Linked DNA regions of Homo sapiens: region 1 is linked to region 2. The links are contacts of gene promoters, found by promoter capture Hi-C in human tissues and cell types (Jung and others, 2019). All regions are on one chromosome and are shown on one strand. Each heading gives the region's core, a stretch centred on a gene start or on the middle of the fragment in contact. The rest is flanking DNA. Distances are from core to core; before and after follow the strand shown.

Region 1 (2,700 bases), core at 174-2,673, 37 kb after region 2:
CCCAGTAAAGCTCCACTGGGGAAGTGGCCAGGGAGGATACTGGAGATATGGGAGGCGGACTCAGGGTGAGCCCACGCCTTTCCTCCCACCTCCCTTCAGAGTATCTCTTGGCTTGCCTGGAACCCTGAACGCTTGCAGGGTACAGGGCATCTGCCTGAAGGCCTGTTTCCACCAAGGAACTGTAAATCCGACCCCCACTGGAGAGATCCCATGCAGACTCGAGATCAGCCCAAAGGCACCCGCTGGGGTTGGGACCTAGAAAGCAGGTTGGATGCCTGCTGACAGTCTGGAGTGACAAGAGGAGGTGCCTCTTGAGCCAGGGAGATTGGGATGCTGTGCTCTGAGGAGGCAGCTGCTGTCACTGAGCTTGGGCTGTCAGGGCCCCCTAAAGCTCACAGCACCTAGCCCCCTGCCCTGGAAAAGATTCAACAGACAGCAGATAGGGGGAGGACAGAGAAGACAGGAAGAGCTCACCACCTTGGAAATCTTTCCAAAGAAAGAGTCCACCCCCACACTCAGCTCCGCATTCCACAGCTTGTGCTTCCACATTAGAAAGTCCTTCCCAGAGTCTAACTTCAGTTCTTCCTGCTGCATCAGAACTCAAGAAGACACCACTTTTGGGACCTGGAAGAAGTACAGTCATATTCTCCCCGATCCTGGCCTTTCTCCCCACCTTGCAACCAGGCAAAGGGGTGTAGAGCCCAAATAACAGCAGGAAGGACCCCAGGACCCAGCAGTTTTCCATTGACCCTCCTGGTATCTCCTGATGCTCTCTTTGCCCTGTGTCCCTCCACATAAGCACTCACCAAGCCCACAGTGTACAGAGTCCCTACAGAAGCCACAGGCCAGGCCCAATCCGGGAACCAGTCCTCCCCAGCCAGCAGCCACCCAGGCCAGGGCAGAGCACACAGAAGAGTTTAGCATCAGCTGCAGCCCTCCTGCTCCACTGCATGTGCTCAGGGGCTTCTGCCCCAGCTCCAGGGATGGCTTTGTGGAGGAGGGGCCCAGACATACAGATGCAGTGGGAGGTGGGGAGCACCCAGGCTCACCCAGTGGGTGCAGGTGAGCCAGAGATCCCCCTCCCCAGAACAACATGCAGCAGGAAGTGGGAATGTGAGGTCTCCTAGATCATCTGGTGGCTGGCTCCCTTCCCTTCCCTTCCCCATGTGGGATAATCAGAAAAATTCTTTATTTTTCTCTCAGAGCACATAACTGCAAGTACCTGAAGGGCGAAGACGAAGTCTGGTTCAAAATCATCTTCCTAGCACCTACCACAGTACCTGGCACACAGTAAGCACTCAATAATATTTGGGGAAGGAAATGAAATCATATAAAATGCTCGATTAAAACCAGAGAGGCAGAAAAAGAGAAGCAAAAAAAAAAGAAAACAAATATAATGACTAGAAAACAGTTATAAACATGGCAGAGATTAAGCCAACTATTGCAATAATCACCTTAAATGTGAAGAAAGTAGGAGAAACTGGTAAGAGGAAGCCATTCTGAGCCTTCTTGCTCATCTCAACAACAACATCCCCCCTGGCAGGCAGCAGAGCTCTGCTCCCAACAGTCACAGCTGAGGGGCCTTCTACAGAATGCTCAGGGTCTCCACTCGAAGGTCCCGCCTCAACCACTCAGCCCCGATATCTCAAGCCACTTAATTAGGTGGTTCTCACAGGAGTCTAACACACTTCCTCCAACTGCAAGACCAGCCCCTCTCCTCAACTCCCGGCCTGGGTGGAGGTGGGGAACAGCCTGTCCTCCTCCTCCTCTGGGAGCTGGTCTGTGCCCCTGTCATTTGCACGGGTAAAACAGAGCAGCATGTTAGCTGCTGGCAGTATCCCAGGCCAGGAGCCTGCCAGGCAGCTTCTCTGAGGGTTGATCAATAAACTCAATTTCCGTCATTTCTTCCACTTCTGCAAAGTCCTATAAATCACTCCGCTCTGCCACAACCCTGGATGGGGGAAACTCATGATGTGTGTGGGGGAGGAAGAAGCTTATCAAATCAAAGCCTTTTTTTTCCATCCACCATTCATGGAAACTTCCAGGTGCTGTGCTCAGAGCTGGAAAAAGAAAATGCAGGCCTGGTACAGTAGCTCACGCCTGTAATCTCAGCACTTTGGGAGGCTGAGGAGGGTGGACCACCTGAGGTCAAGAGTTCGCGACCAGCCTGGGTAACATGGTGAAACCCTGTCTCTACTAAAAATACAAATATTAGCCAGTCTTGGTGGCATGCACCTGTAGTCCCAGCTACTCAGGAGGCTGAGGCAGGAGAATCGCTTGAACCCGGGCGGCGGAGGTTGCAGTGAGCCGAAATCATGCCATTGCACTCCAGCTGGGGCAACGGAGCAAAAACTCCGTCTAAAAAAAAAAAATGCAGAGAGACAGTAGTAACGGGCCTTGGGGAACGCCACCAGGCAAGAATCGGGTAGGACATGCACTGCAGCCAGGGGAGGGGCGGACACATGAGCAGTGGCACAGAGGGCACGTGGGGGAACAGGCATAGAGTGGCTTCCTTCACCCAGTTGATAGAAACACTGACAGTCTGGGACATTTGGAAGGTCCAACCCCAGGGCCTCCAACTTCCAATTCCACAAACGCCTGACCAACCACACTGCTCTCTCCCCTCCCAACCTCCTCAGCTGGTGCCCACTGTCTCCAATAGAGCACACTGGCTGGCTAGGGGGGCCAAGGCTCAGGGTG
Region 2 (2,742 bases), core at 179-2,678:
GAAATTAGAAGTCCTCCTCTCAGTGCCCCAAATGAACCAGAAGAAGCTATCATTGACTGTCATTGCTGTCAATCATCTTGGGTACAAAAGGAGGCAGTCATCTTAAAAAGGAAAAGTGATGCCTCTTTAGTATTCACCGAGCGTGATTCTGGACAAGCCACTTTTTGTCCACCTCTCTTACAATGAAGGGAAGGCACTGGCTGAGTTTTAAAGGAAGAGAAAGGGAGAGAGGGAGAGAAGAGGGAGAGAGCAGAGAGACCTCACCGAGAGAGCTGCAAAACCAGCCTGGAAAAATTAGAGTATTACCTAACATTAGTGAAAAATAAAGGTACTTTCTTGAGAAGCCCTTGGACCCATTCTGCCTCTTGGAGTTCTGAACTTTTCACTCACTGCCTATTAATTAATGTTAAGCCTGCAAAGAATGGAGTTGTCCTGGATATTTGGCCAAAAAAAAAATGTATCCACAAACAGGGACGTAATCAGGCAGGGAGCCTCGTTAAGAAGTTTTGTTCTTGTCCTAGGAGTGATGAGAGATCACTGAAGGATTTAGAGAGGGGCTGTATCATCAGGCTTGGGTTCCAAAGCCTCACTGAGAGAGTTGGGGAGCTGACTGATGTCAGATGCTCGTGCAGCCGCCCCGTAGGGCCTGTATTTCCTCCATGGTGCCTCACTGCAGCACCGAGCTTGCAAAAGATCCTCTCTCTTTATGGGAATTTCAAAACAGAAGCAAAATAGCACCGGGGCTTAAAGCATTCTTGGGAATTTCCCTGTCTTTCCCTCTAAATAATCAGCATGTAAATTGCAAAAAAAAAAAAAAAAAAAAAAAAAAAGACACGGGCCCAAAAGGGAGCGCTCAGTTTCAGGCTCTTTGCTTTCCTTCCTCCCGAGGCTCTCTGGCCCTTACCCAGCCTGAAGACAGAAAGTGTGAGGGGGAGGGTAGGAAGGTAGGTCAAGCAGGGCAATGCTGAGCCTGGGAAGAAAACAACAGCCTTGTTTAGGGCACTGTGGCTTACGTAACTAAATTGTGCCCAGTTTCCACCTGGCCAGGGGCCTGGAGTGAATGCTGAAGATGCAAAGGTAGAGGCTGCCAGAAAAGCCAGGAAATTGCTGGCAAGAAAGGCCAGTGGTGGGGTGCAGGAGTGGGAGGAAGGCTGGGAAATGCGGCTGAGTCACATCTCCAGAAGCCCCCCATCATCACCCTAGTGGCTCTTCTGCTGGCAGGTGCCTCATGAAGACCTGACCCAAAGTTTTCAAAACTCTGCGGTTTCTCAACCCTCCTCTGGTAATCCATAGTACTCCCCCGCCTCCACTTGCCAGCCTCGTGATTCCTTCATTGACACATAGCTCAGTTCCCATAAAAGGGCTGGTTTGCCGCGTCGGGGAGTGGAGTGGGACAGGTATATAAAGGAAGTACAGGGCCTGGGGAAGAGGCCCTGTCTAGGTAGCTGGCACCAGGAGCCGTGGGCAAGGGAAGAGGCCACACCCTGCCCTGCTCTGCTGCAGCCAGAATGGGTGTGAAGGCGTCTCAAACAGGTATCTGGGCTAGCCAAGGTTAATCCATCAGAGTTGTGGGTTTTCAGGCCCAGACAGCCCGCAGAGCCATCTGCCTGCTGGGTGAGGGACTAAGGGAGTGGGCAGAGGGGGAGGAGAAGCAGAGCCAGGGGAGGGACTGAGGCTGCAACCAGGAGGTGGGGGTGGGGGAGGTGGGTCTCAGTTGCTTGGGGGAGGGAGCAGGGCGGAAGGGCAGGATGCACTTGCAGGGGTCTCATCCTGGATTTCTCTTCAGGCTTTGTGGTCCTGGTGCTGCTCCAGTGCTGTGAGTAATCCCTCCACCTCCACTTTTAAGTCCAGAGGCGTGGCGAGGGCACAGGGCAGGTGTGGAGGAGGTCTTAGCTCCAAGGGAACACTTTGCCAGGTTCTTCTGTGCTTCCAATGACTTCGAAATAGTCACGTTTGCTAAACTGGAGTGAGGAGTATATGGATGTTTATTTTGCTATACTCTTTGGTATATGTGAAAATTCTCAAAATAAGAAACTTTAAAAGGTCCTGGTTCAGTGAAGGCTTTGACTAACAGCCCCTGGGAGCCGCTAGTACAGTTGCCCAGTAGCTGCTTGGATGAGTGATGCCCACATTGTTTGCAGCAGGAGAAACAGAATTAGAGGCGAGGAAGGATTTCCTGGTCCATTGTGATATTGTGCCCCAGCCTGGGGGACATGCCGAGGGAGCACAGGACTGCCATTCCGGGTGGGTTACAAGTTAGAGGCACTCTCACCAGGAGGCAGAGAAAGGTGGGCCAGAGTCCCTCATGGATGAAGGACCTCACTGCAGGTCACTAAAGGTGCCAGCCTGAAAGCCAGGGCCATCTGTGACACAGGCTATCTTGGGCCTTCCCCTCCCACAAAGCCACTGCTTCCAGGAAGCCTGCTGTGCTGGCACCAAGTCCCATTTCATCCTTATTCCCCAGCTCCTACCCTTCCCCCACACAGTGCCTGTAGCGTATTCATCCCCTGCATTGGATCTTTTCTAAGCATTTTCAGAATAGGCCTTATTTTCACCAGTCAGGGAACTCCCCAGAGGCAGGGGGACCTGAACCAGCTCCTTTCATTTAAGAATTCTGACTTTGCTCACAATCTGCACCCCACTCCTCCCTACCCAACCCCACACCCCATTGGTGCTCAGCTCTGGGCTCAGCCTGAGGTCTCTTGCCGAATCCTGGCCCGGGCCCCATCCCAGACTTCTCCT

The links. Contacts are between HindIII fragments. The study calls those that stand out against the background at their distance.
Region 1: a fragment that was not itself captured here is called in contact with the fragment with the promoter of CHI3L1 in region 2 in 1 of the 25 tissues and cell types used here (liver).

Annotation. Positions count from the first base shown.
Region 1 is chr1:203,148,556-203,151,255 of GRCh38, reverse strand. All of the region lies in intron 3 of ADORA1 (adenosine A1 receptor), which reads right to left. Among named protein-coding and RNA genes, the nearest start is that of ADORA1, 22 kb to the right of the region's middle. The HindIII fragment of the contact is 9,638 bases long and covers 1-2,700 here.
Region 2 is chr1:203,185,390-203,188,131 of GRCh38, reverse strand. It overlaps CHI3L1 (chitinase 3 like 1), which reads left to right and starts at 1,428. Exons shown (of 10, transcript NM_001276.4): 1 at 1,428-1,533; 2 at 1,787-1,816. The coding sequence starts at 1,509. The HindIII fragment of the contact is 13,862 bases long and covers 1-2,742 here.